Regions from separate parts of the Homo sapiens genome. Here regions 1 and 2 are each linked to region 3. The links are contacts of gene promoters, found by promoter capture Hi-C in blood cells and fetal thymus (Javierre and others, 2016). All regions are on one chromosome and are shown on one strand. The core of a region is centred on a gene start or on the middle of the fragment in contact, and the rest is flanking DNA. Distances in the headings are between cores, read along the strand shown. Region 1 overlaps PRPS1 (phosphoribosyl pyrophosphate synthetase 1). Region 2 has its middle 43 kb from the start of PRPS1. Region 3 holds the start of RBM41 (RNA binding motif protein 41).

The links. The method cuts DNA at HindIII sites, captures the fragments that hold promoters and counts their contacts. A CHiCAGO score of 5 or more calls a contact.
Region 1: a fragment that was not itself captured here is called in contact with the fragment with the promoter of RBM41 in region 3 in 1 of 17 cell types (total B cells); the score reaches 5.7 in total B cells.
Region 2: a contact is called between a fragment that was not itself captured here and the fragment with the promoter of RBM41 in region 3, in 1 of 17 cell types (monocytes). The highest score is 7.6, in monocytes.

Annotation. Positions count from the first base shown.
Region 1 is chrX:107,646,897-107,650,231 of GRCh38, forward strand. It overlaps PRPS1 (phosphoribosyl pyrophosphate synthetase 1), which reads left to right. Exons shown (of 7, transcript NM_002764.4): 6 at 710-869; 7 at 3,044-3,335. The coding sequence ends at 3,136. Among named protein-coding and RNA genes, the nearest start is that of PRPS1, 20 kb to the left of the region's middle. The HindIII fragment of the contact is 8,666 bases long and covers 1-3,335 here.
Region 2 is chrX:107,670,079-107,673,638 of GRCh38, forward strand. No RefSeq gene overlaps it. Among named protein-coding and RNA genes, the nearest start is that of PRPS1, 43 kb to the left of the region's middle. RefSeq lists a silencer at 3,060-3,109. The HindIII fragment of the contact is 4,714 bases long and covers 1-3,560 here.
Region 3 is chrX:107,117,572-107,121,396 of GRCh38, forward strand. RBM41 (RNA binding motif protein 41) reads right to left here and starts at 1,251. Exons shown (of 8, transcript NM_001324242.2): 1 at 1,195-1,251. The coding sequence starts at 1,202. RefSeq lists enhancers at 555-634, 1,015-1,204. The HindIII fragment of the contact is 8,519 bases long and covers 289-3,825 here.

The sequences.
Region 1 (3,335 bases), core at 836-3,335, 530 kb after region 3:
ATGTGAGGGAGGCTGGGAAATGTAGTTCAGCTATGTGCCCAGAAAGAAGAGGAAGTGGATTTTGTTAAGTGCAACAGTCTATGCCAGAGTCCTTTGACACTAATTCAGACCTATTCAGATAAGTTCTTAGTGCAGTTCTTTCTCGATATGGACTGAATTGTGTCCTCCCCAAATTCATATATGTTGAGGCCTAACCCCAATGTGATGGTATTTGGAGTTACCTTGAGGGGCACGTATTTAGGATTAGATGAGGTCACTAGGGCAGAGCCCTTACAATGGGATGAATGCCCTTATAAGAAGAGAATGCTGGAGAACTGGCCAGCATTTCCCCATGCGCACGCATGCGTGCACACACACTCACACTCACACACAAAGAGGTCATCTGAGCACACAGCAAAGTGGTGGCCACCTACAAGAGAAGAGGCCTCAGCATGACACCTACTTTGTCTGCACCTTGATCTTGGACTTTAAGCCTCCAGAACTGTGAAAAATTTGTTTCTGTTATTTAAGCCACCCATTCTATGGTATTTTCTTTTCCTTAAAAAAATTTTTCCCCTAACCCACTGTGCCTTATAATATTTTTTATTTTTTTATTTTTTTTCATATGATATTTTGTTGTGGAAGCCTAAGCAGGCTAATATACTCCTCCCTGACTAAAATTCTGCAATGACAAGTAAGATGAATCCAAATCAACATTTTTTCCCTCTAGACTTCTCTCAGCTGGCGCCACCAGAGTTTATGCCATCTTGACTCATGGAATCTTCTCCGGTCCTGCTATTTCTCGCATCAACAACGCATGCTTTGAGGCAGTAGTAGTCACCAATACCATACCTCAGGAGGACAAGATGAAGCATTGCTCCAAAATACAGGTGAGGATGAGATTTGTGCAAAACAAGACTTTTCTAAGTGTTTAGGAGGTGGTTACTTACGTTGAATTAGGTCTCTGGATTCTGAAGATATCTTTCTTTGGTCTGAAGGATTTAGTCTTGTCATCAGAATTTGTGATCCAAAAGTTAACAATCACCTGTTTCTTTTCCTTTTTTTTTTTCTTTTCAAACTGCCAAGCCTTGGGAAAATCACCTGTTTAAAAGTTTAAATTGCTACACCTCAGAATCTCTGGAAGATGGAGCCTAAGATTCTACATTTTAACAGGTTCTCCCAGTGATTCTGATGCAAATTAAAGTTTTCAAGTCCATACTTTACAGTATGTGTTTGTCTGTTAACTATCGGCCCCTGTAGATATAATGTGAAACCTTTAAACTGATTGTACACTTCTACCAACTTTAGTGTTTCTCAGTGTGCTCTGGACCTAAGGTTCTTATTAAAATGTAGATTCCTTTGCTCCATCTAAGACCTATAAAACCAGAGGTCCTGGAACCAGTATTTTAAAGTAATTCCCCAAGTAATTGTTAGAAACTAAAGTTTGAGTGCTCTTGCACTAAAAGAACAAGGCCTTGCTTAATTAAAAATGTTCACATTAATCTATGAGCTTTTTGAAATTAATATGTGTAATTGGAGGATTATCATCTTTTTTTTTTTTTTTTTTGAGATAGGATCTTGCTCTGTTGCCCCAGCCGGAGTGCGCAATCAAAGCTCACTGCAGCCTCAACTTTGAAGGCTCAGGCAATCATCCTGTCTCAGCCTCCCAAGTGGCTGGCGTGCACCACCATGCCCAGCTAATTTTTTTGATATTATGTGTAGAGACGGGGTCTCCCTATGTTGCCCAGGCTGGTCTCAAACTCCTAGCCTCAAGCTATCCTCCTGTGTCAGCCTCCCAAAGTGCTGAGATTACAGGTGATGTCATTCTTAAGGATTTTTTTTCAACTTAGTCTTTTTTTTTTCCTTCATAAGGTTTTTTTGTTTGTTTGTTTTTTGTTTTTGAGATGGAGTTTTGCTCTTGTTGCCTAGGCTGGAGTGCAATGGCACGATCTCAGCTCACCGCAACCTCAGCCTCCCAGGTTCAAGTGAGTCTCCTGCCTCAGCCTCCCAAGTAGCTGGGATTACAGGCATGTGCCACCACGCCTGACTAATTTTTTATTTTTAGTAGAGATGGGGTTTCTCCATGTTGCTCAGGCTGGTCTTGAACTCCTGACCTCAGGTGATCCGTCCACCTCGGCCTCCCAAACTGCTGGGATTACAGGCATGAGCCACCACGCCCAGCCTATTCAGAAGGATTTTTAAATGCGAACCTACCACCATTTTTTTTTAGACAGGGTCTCACTCTGTTGCCTAAGCTGGAGTGCAGTGGCCTGATCTTGACTCACTGCAGCCTCAAACTCCCAGGCTCAAGCGATCCTCCTGCCTTAGCCTCACAAGTAGCTGGGACTACAGGCATACACCACAACCACGCCTGGCTAATTTTTGTTTTATTGTAGAGACAGAGTTTCACCATATTGCCCAGGCTGGACTCAAACTCCTGGGCTCAAGTGATCCTCCCACCTTGGCCTCCCAAAGTGCTGGGATTACAGGTGTGAGCCACAGTGCCCAGCCATTTTGATGAACCAAAGTCAGCGTTTTTTCTCAGTTAGCATTTTGACTCTTTCCTAAGTGGCTGTTTTGTTTTGTTTTGTTGTTTTGAGACAGAGTCTCGCTCTGTCACCCAGGCTGGAGTGCAGTGGCACGATCTTGGCTCACCGCAACCTCCACCTCCCAGGTTCAAGCAATTCTCATGCCTCAGCCTCCCGAGTAGCTGGGATTACAGGCGTGTGCCACACCATGCTTGGTTAATTTTTGTATTTTTAGTAGAGACGGGGTTTCATCATGTTGGCCAGCCTGGTCTCCAACTCCTGGCCTCAAGTGATCTGCCCACCTTGGCCTCCCAAAGTGCAGGGATTAACAGGTGTGAGCCACCGTGCCCAGCCGTAAGTGGCTATCTTAAAAATGTTATGAAGAATAGCTGAGTGCAGCCTCATGACAGGGAAACAGCACAGTGTTGCAGTTTTAAGAGGAAGGGCACTTGCCTGGCTGCTCATCAGTGTCTGCAAATTGGCCAGTCATCTCTGACCATATGATAGTAACCTGATTTCCTTTCTTGCCTTTCTAGGTGATTGACATCTCTATGATCCTTGCAGAAGCCATCAGGAGAACTCACAATGGAGAATCCGTTTCTTACCTATTCAGCCATGTCCCTTTATAATAGAGTAACTTCTGAGGCTTTTTGAGAATAAAATCCACCCCACCCTTGTTTCCCCTTGGTATTTGATGACAAATTCAGCAGAAGACCCGGCTTGCTCCAGTGTAGCTTTCTACATCCCACATCAGGTATATTAGAGCTTATCCGAACTGGGGAAAGACGGATTGAGATTAACTGCTGGGACCTCCTACCTGCATTATCT
Region 2 (3,560 bases), core at 437-2,936, 550 kb after region 3:
GAAGTGATGAACTTGACCCTATTAATAGACCCTATTAATATGGTACTTTAACCAACAGGACAAACTAGATATGGCTATCTTTACTGATAAGAAAGAAATACACTGAGCCTGGCTTCTTCTTTCCCACCCTGAAAGATATAAACAATGTATCCCTTCTGAACTTAGCAAGTTCCTGAAGGGAAAGACAGGCTTCTCAAAGCCAGCTGGTGTTGGCAGCCTTCTTGAACCATATTTGGCCTGAGTGGGAGCACAACAGGACCTCCAGGTAATGAGCACACGATCACTACAATGTGTGGAGCTGCAGAGTGAAGAAAACAAACATTGTATTCTTTATATTGTTTACACTAACTTCATAAAAGCATTTCACACAGGTGGAGGGGCAATGACCCAAGAAGACTATCAACAGGGAGAAGGGGGGTAGTGGGGAGGGAAGTCTGCAAATTCATCAGCAATCCTCCCTGAAAAACATGCTGAGGTGGCTCCCACTATCTACCTCATGTTTTTTGTCAAAGAAGCAGCAAGGGAAAGAGGACTTAACAAATAACAGCTGCCATTTATTTAGGCTATTAATTTTTTGAGACAAGGTCTTGCTCTGTCACCCAGGCTAGAGTGCAGTGGCGCGATCTGGGCTCACTGCAGCCTCCGCCTCCTGGGTTCAAGTGATTCTCCTGCCTCAGCCACCCGAGTAGCTGGGATTACAGGTGCGCAGCACCACGCCCGGCTAATTTTTGTATTTTTAGTAGAGACAGGGTTTCACCATGTTGGCCAGGCTGGTCTTGAACTCCTGACCTCAAGTGATCCACCTGCCTCGGCCTCCCAAAGTGCTGGGATTACAGGAATGAGCCACTGTGCCTGTGTCTGGCTATTTAGCCGTTACTATGTACCAGGTACTGCATTGATGGCTTTGTGTATATCAGTTAATTCCTAATAACCACTTGAGATAAATATTATTATTATCCCCATTTTACAGATGGAGACACAGGCATGGCAAGGTCAAGTAGCTTGCCTGGTGTTAGACAAGGCAGCATTCAAACCCTTGCAGTCTGGCTCCAGAGCCCCTGCCCTTAACTGCTGTACCACACTGTCTCCCAGTTTTTTGTTTGTTTGTTTTTTGAGATGGAGTCTTGCTCTGTCATCCAGGCTGGAGTGCAGTGGCATGATCTTGGCTCACTGCAGCCTCTGCCTCCCACGTTCCAGTGATTCTCCTGCCTCAGCCTCCCAGGTAGCTGTGATTATAGGCACACGCCACCACGCCCAGCTAATTTTTGTATATTTAGTAGAGATGGAGTTTCACCATGTTGGCCAGGCTGGTCTCAAACTCCTGACTTCAGGTGATCAGCTCGCCTCGGCCTCCCAAAGTGCTAGGATTACAGGCGTGAGCCACAGCGCCCGGCCCTGTCTCCCACTTTTAAAAGTCCATTGCGGCTGTGGTCCTGGCTCTTGGGGAGCTGACAAGAGGGCAACCAGAGACTGACATGGTCTTCAAGGGGAGGGAATGTGACCATAAGTACACTGGGTAGAAAAATAGAACAGGAAGCCCAGAGAGGCTCACCAGTCACCAGTCACCACTCAGTTGGTGCTGGGACTCATTGGTGACGGGGTCGGGGGGTAGGGTGGGGTGAAAGAAGGTGCTTTTCCAAGAGGTGCTGTTGTGTGCACAGAGACAAAGCAGAGCTGGGGCAGAAAGCTGGGAAGGCAACTTTCTTCTGAGGGGGGCCAGACCACTAGGCTGCCTCGGGAATGGGCAAACGGCCCCAACAGCCACTCCTAGGTATATACCCCAAAGAATTGAAAGCAGAGGCTCGGACAGATACTTGTACACCAATGTGTTTACAGCAGCATTCTTCACAATAGTCCAAAGGTAGAAACAACCCTTAAGTGTCTATCAATGGATGAATGGATAAACAAAATGTGGTATATCCATACAGTAGACAATTACTCAGCCTTAAAAGGAAAGAAACTCTGGCACATGCTACAACATGAAGATTATGCTAACTGAATAAGCCAGACACAAAAGGACAAATATTGCATGATTCTGCTTATATTAGGGACCTAGAATAGTCAAATTCATAAGAGACAGAACATAGAATGGTGATTACTAGGGGCTAGGGGGAGGGGAGAATGGGTATATTCTCTACCCTCACTCTGGGGGCGGGTTTGTGGGGGGGATTATTGTTTAATGGGTATGGAGTTTTGCAACATGAAAAGAGTTCTGGAGGTGGAGAGTGGTAATTGTTGCAGAATAATGTAAATGTACTTATTGTCACTGAATTATGCACTTAAAAATGATTCAAATGGCAAAAATTTTTAGGCTGGGCGCGGTGGCTCACGCCTGTTATCCCAGCACTTTGGGAGGCTGAGGGGGGCGGATCATGAGGTCAGGAGATCAAGACCATCCTGGCTAACACGGTGAAACCCCGTCTCTACTAAAAATACAAAAAAAAAAAAAAAATTAGCTGGGCGTGGTGGCGGGTGCCTGTAGTCCCAGCTAGTTGGGAGGCTGAGGCAGGAGAATGGCATGAACCTGGGAGGGGGAGCTTGCAGTGAGCTGAAGTCGTGCCACTGCACTCCAGCCTGGGCAACAGAGTGAGACTCTGTCTCAAAAAAAAAAAAAAAAAAAAAAAAAGCTAGGCATGGTGGCATGCGCCTGTAGTCCCAGCTGCTTGGGAGGCTGAGGCAGGCAGGAGAATCACTTGAACCCAGGAGGTGGAGGTTGCAGTGAGCCAAGATCGTGCCACTGCACTGCAGCCTGGTGACAGAAAGAGACTCCATCTCAAAAAAAAAAAAAAGAGATTCAAATGGTAAAAAATTTTAAAACACCACGAAAACAAAAACAAAACAGCCCGTGCAGCAGCCTGGTCCACTGAGCTTGCAGCCCAGACATTGGTGGTGGGTTTTGAGGTCTAAAAATAGGGCCTCCTATGGCAAAAATTGGTCACCTGGACAGGAACAGCAGTGAGAGCTTATTGCCTGAAGAGGGGGCAAGAGAGCTCTGGGACGGTGAGTTTCCTCACCTACCCCATCTCCCTTTCCCCCCTCCCTCCGTGTGTGCGTGCGTGCGTGCGTGCGTGTGTGTGTGTGTGTGTGGTGTGCACCTCACCACCCCACCCCACTCCAGAGCAGACAGACCGCCAGCCCAGCAGAAGCAACTGGGTGTGGCCTGACTCCCAGGGAGTCCTGGGGAATCCCTGCAACTGAGCAAATTTCGCTCCTGCCTCTTCCAGATTCTCCAGGGAGCTGTCCTCTCCTCTGAGGTCCAAGTTAGCTAGCCTATTCTCCAGTGAAAAAACTGATAGAAGGTATCCAGTTTTCAGGATTGTCTGGGGGGAAATGGAGGCAGTCCAGCAGAAAGATCATCGATTCAAGTGTAGCGGACTTGGGTTCAAATCCTGATTCTCCCACTTAGTAGAGTATGACCTTGGCCACAGTGTTTAACCTCTCTGTGCTTCAGTTTCCTTGGCTGTAAAACAGTACAGGGACCCATCTCAAAACTGTTGAGGATTAAATGAGATGTGCAAAGCACTTACAATAGTAAGTGTGAGATAAGCATCAGCTAGGAT
Region 3 (3,825 bases), core at 1-2,500:
AGATGGAATAAATGATTTGGGAAAGGGAAAGTCAGTATTGTTTTAGCCACATTGAGTCTAGTAGCTTTTACAATAGAAACGCCAGCATGAAGTATCAGGAATACTTCAAATACATGACTAGGAACATTTTGTTTAGGGATAAATTCATATGTACTAGAAACTATTTGCTTTTTTAAAAGCAAGGGAATTAATAACACAAAATTCCGGATAGTGGTCACCTCAGGGGGGAACGAAGGGAGGGAAGAGACACAGTAGACTTCTAAGGGACTGGCAATGTCCTATTTCTTAAGCTTGTAGTGGATGCGAACCTTTATTATTCTTTAAGCTGTATATATACATTATACATTATTTCGCATGGAGGAGATATCATAAAAAAATATTAAAGGTTAGTTTCAGGCAGGCAAAGTCATAAACGGTTTTTTAAAAGATGCAAGGAACTGACAGTGCAGGAAAGCATATCAGTAAGAATTTTAAATGCACTGCACTATTCCAGAGTGATGATTCTACTTGCAGAGTGAATCTAAAATTAATTTAAGCCCGTCAATAGTTAGGAGGCTCAGGCCATTTAGGCTCAAGCGGCCATTTACCTCAGGACAAGTAAGGGGAACTGAGCCCAGCAATGCCTTCCACCTCCCCTCCCCCCACCCCATAAATCGAACCGCTTTGGTGCTGTCCTTCCACATTTAGAAACAAAGTACCGCTCCCTTACTTTAAGATTCGAAAGCGCTACATGGTTTCGGGGCCCAAGCAAGTAGTCTTTAACACACAGACGTTGCAAATAAATGCGCCCGCCCCGAGCCTTTCTCAGGTGGAGGTGGAGGTAGGGGAGAACGGCGAGGGGCTGGCCCGAGGTACCTACATCTCCGGCGCCGGGAATTTGTCAGCCTCAAACCCTTTTGCCCAGCTGGGTCCGGGTGAAACGACGAAGCCGCAGCACCCGGCCAGCTCCCGGGGCCCGTGCCGGGAGGGCATTCCCACAGCAGCCGGCCCCGGTGGCAGCCCTTCCTGAACTTCGCTCTGCAGGCCTGTTCAGCCCGTCTCCCCTCCTCCCGTCTCCTTTGTCGTGTTCCCGCTCCCACGAAACCGCATCCTGAGAACGTGCAATACCCAAACCAGAAAGCAATGGAAGCCATTTTCAAAAGAAAAGGTAGAACAAAGCTCCCCTTGCCGCCTGCTCTTCAGACAAGTCCTTACCTCTTCATGTTTCCACAGGCCCCTACCTCCAACTTGGGTAAATAGGCCGCGGACCTCAAGTCCCAGAACTCCGCGCGGCGGACTTCTAAGGGTATTGTGATGGAGCATGGGGCTCTGGGAATTGTAGTAGCACAGAGCTATGGCAACAGAAAGAGAAAGTAGATCTCAAGTGACAGGTATGCTGAACATTGTCCAAATATTTATTTTGAATTTCTCATTTAGGTTCAAAAGAAGACCCAAAATATCCAGCTCATAAAACGAGTCACCTTTGACTTCTTGATTCTCTCATCCATTACCACTAATTCCTGGCTCTTCTGTAATTTCCTTTGAACTTATCAACACTGCTTTTCTTTCAAGGATTTATCCAGCCTACCTACCGTTTCCAGTCGAGCCTCTGCTTCATCCTTCACGATGTAGCCAGAGTCATCAGACACGAGTCTGACTATATCACCTGTACTAATGGTTCTCCTCTATCTGTAACAGAGACTTGAGAGTTTTCTCCACTCAGAATCAGAAGTCTGTGTATGTTCAGGCCCACATATGTTTTATTGATAATTATGGTGAATCAAGAAAGAGGTATAGTATAGTGGTTAAAAGCATAGGCTCTTAGTTTCCAGAAATGGAAATGCAAATGTCTTTAAGTGTATGAAAAGATGTCCAATCTCACAAATTTTAAAGTACACTGACTACCAGTACTCCTTAAAACTAGCAAGGTCATCAAAAACACAAGAATCTGTCACAGCCAAAAGGAACCAAAGGAGTCATGATGACTAAAGTAATGCAGTATCTTGGATGGGATCCTGGAAAAGAAAAAAAGACATGAGGTAAAAACTAAGGAAATGTGAACAAACTATGCTCTTTAGCTAATAACAAGGTTCGTTAGCTGTGACAAATGTATCAGAGTTATGCAAGGGAAACTGAGTTGTACGTATGTGGAACTTTGTACTATGCAACCTTTCTGTATCTAAAACTGTTCTAGAACTTAAAGTTTATTTTTAAAAGTACATTAAACTACCATTTTTCACCTAACAGATTGGGAAAGATCCAAAAGTTTGATAACACACTTGTTTTATTGAGATTGTGGGGAAACGGGCGCTCTCAATACACTAGTGGTAGGAATATAAATTGGTACAACATCTATTGGGGGCAAATGAGGATACTACTAAAATCATAAATGTACATTCCCTTTAAAGCAGCAATTCAGTTATGAATAGAATCCTCAATACTATATATCCTCTAACCTACTATCATTCCTTGCAACATTGTTTATGAAAACAGAAATGAAAATATCCAAGAACATACTATGAAAATGTATCATTCAATGAAAAACTATGCAGCAGTTACCAAGATGACAAAGTTCTCTATGAACTGCTACTAAACAATCTCCAAAATATAGTTAGTGCAATAGCAAGGTGCAGAACGATATGTATACTATGCTTCTATTTGCATAAAAAGGGGAGCTCTAGTCACTTAAAAACATATATATGTGTGTTTGCTTGTATATGCACAAAATATGTTTGGGAGAACTTACAGACAAATGATGAGTGAATGCCTCCAGGTAGGGGAACTGGATGGCTGAGGGACAAGGGCAGAAAAAATTCTTCACGTATCTTTTTGTGCCCTTTGAATTTTGAACCCATGACTACATTACCTAGTCAATACTTTTTTAATTAAAGAGAAACCCTCTTACATCTCAAGAAGCCAAAGAAGAAAAGATTGTAGGTAATGGTGGGGGGCGGGGCACACTACTTGGATTTGAATCTCACTTCTCAGTTGACAGTATAGCACGACAGGGTTTTAGAGGCAATCTGGACTTGAATTTTTGCTCTGGTAAGTTACTAGACCATGTGGGTTTCAGTAAGTTTCTTAACTGGTCTAGGCCAGTTTTCTCATCTGTAAAATGAGGATACCTCCTAAGTATAGGGTGACTGTCAAGCACATACAAAGGTATGGTTTTAAAGTTATTCCATGATTGAGTGGTAATCTATGAGTAAATAGTCAAATGTTAATCAGTAGATTTAGACTTATCCAAACTGCTTTGTATTTCCATGCTCAAGTTAGAGCAAAGGACCAAAAAGCAGCTACTGAAAAACATTGTAGAATTTCCTGTCCTGAGAACTTCTATCAGATTGAAAATGTCATGGTGAGCTACCTAAGACCTGTCACATGCAAATAACTGTGCTCTTGAATCATAAAGGTGAATGACTGCAGGCATAGCATGTACCACTTTGTAGCTTTGGCACAGAACGTGAACTGAATATAAGTATAAACAAAACGGGGGGTCACATCATTGCCTGCACCAGGTAAATCCTATATGGTGGTAGAGCTGAATTTTGTGGCTCAACCAATCTGTCCCAATTGACATATTGACAAGGAAATGGAAAAATACACCAAGGTTGCTAGTGTGCTTATCCCCTGGGACGGTGGCAAAGGATGGAACAAATATTACACCAACCATCACACCAAACTTGTGTACAACTTCTAATAAAACATATAGCCTATTGATACTGAAATGATACACACTACATTGCAAATCCACTAGGTGGGATGAGTGGAGAACGAATAGCTAAGATACATATTCACATAGCTGTGGAATTGCAACTGGAAAGCAAGGTCATAAGAAGTACTCTA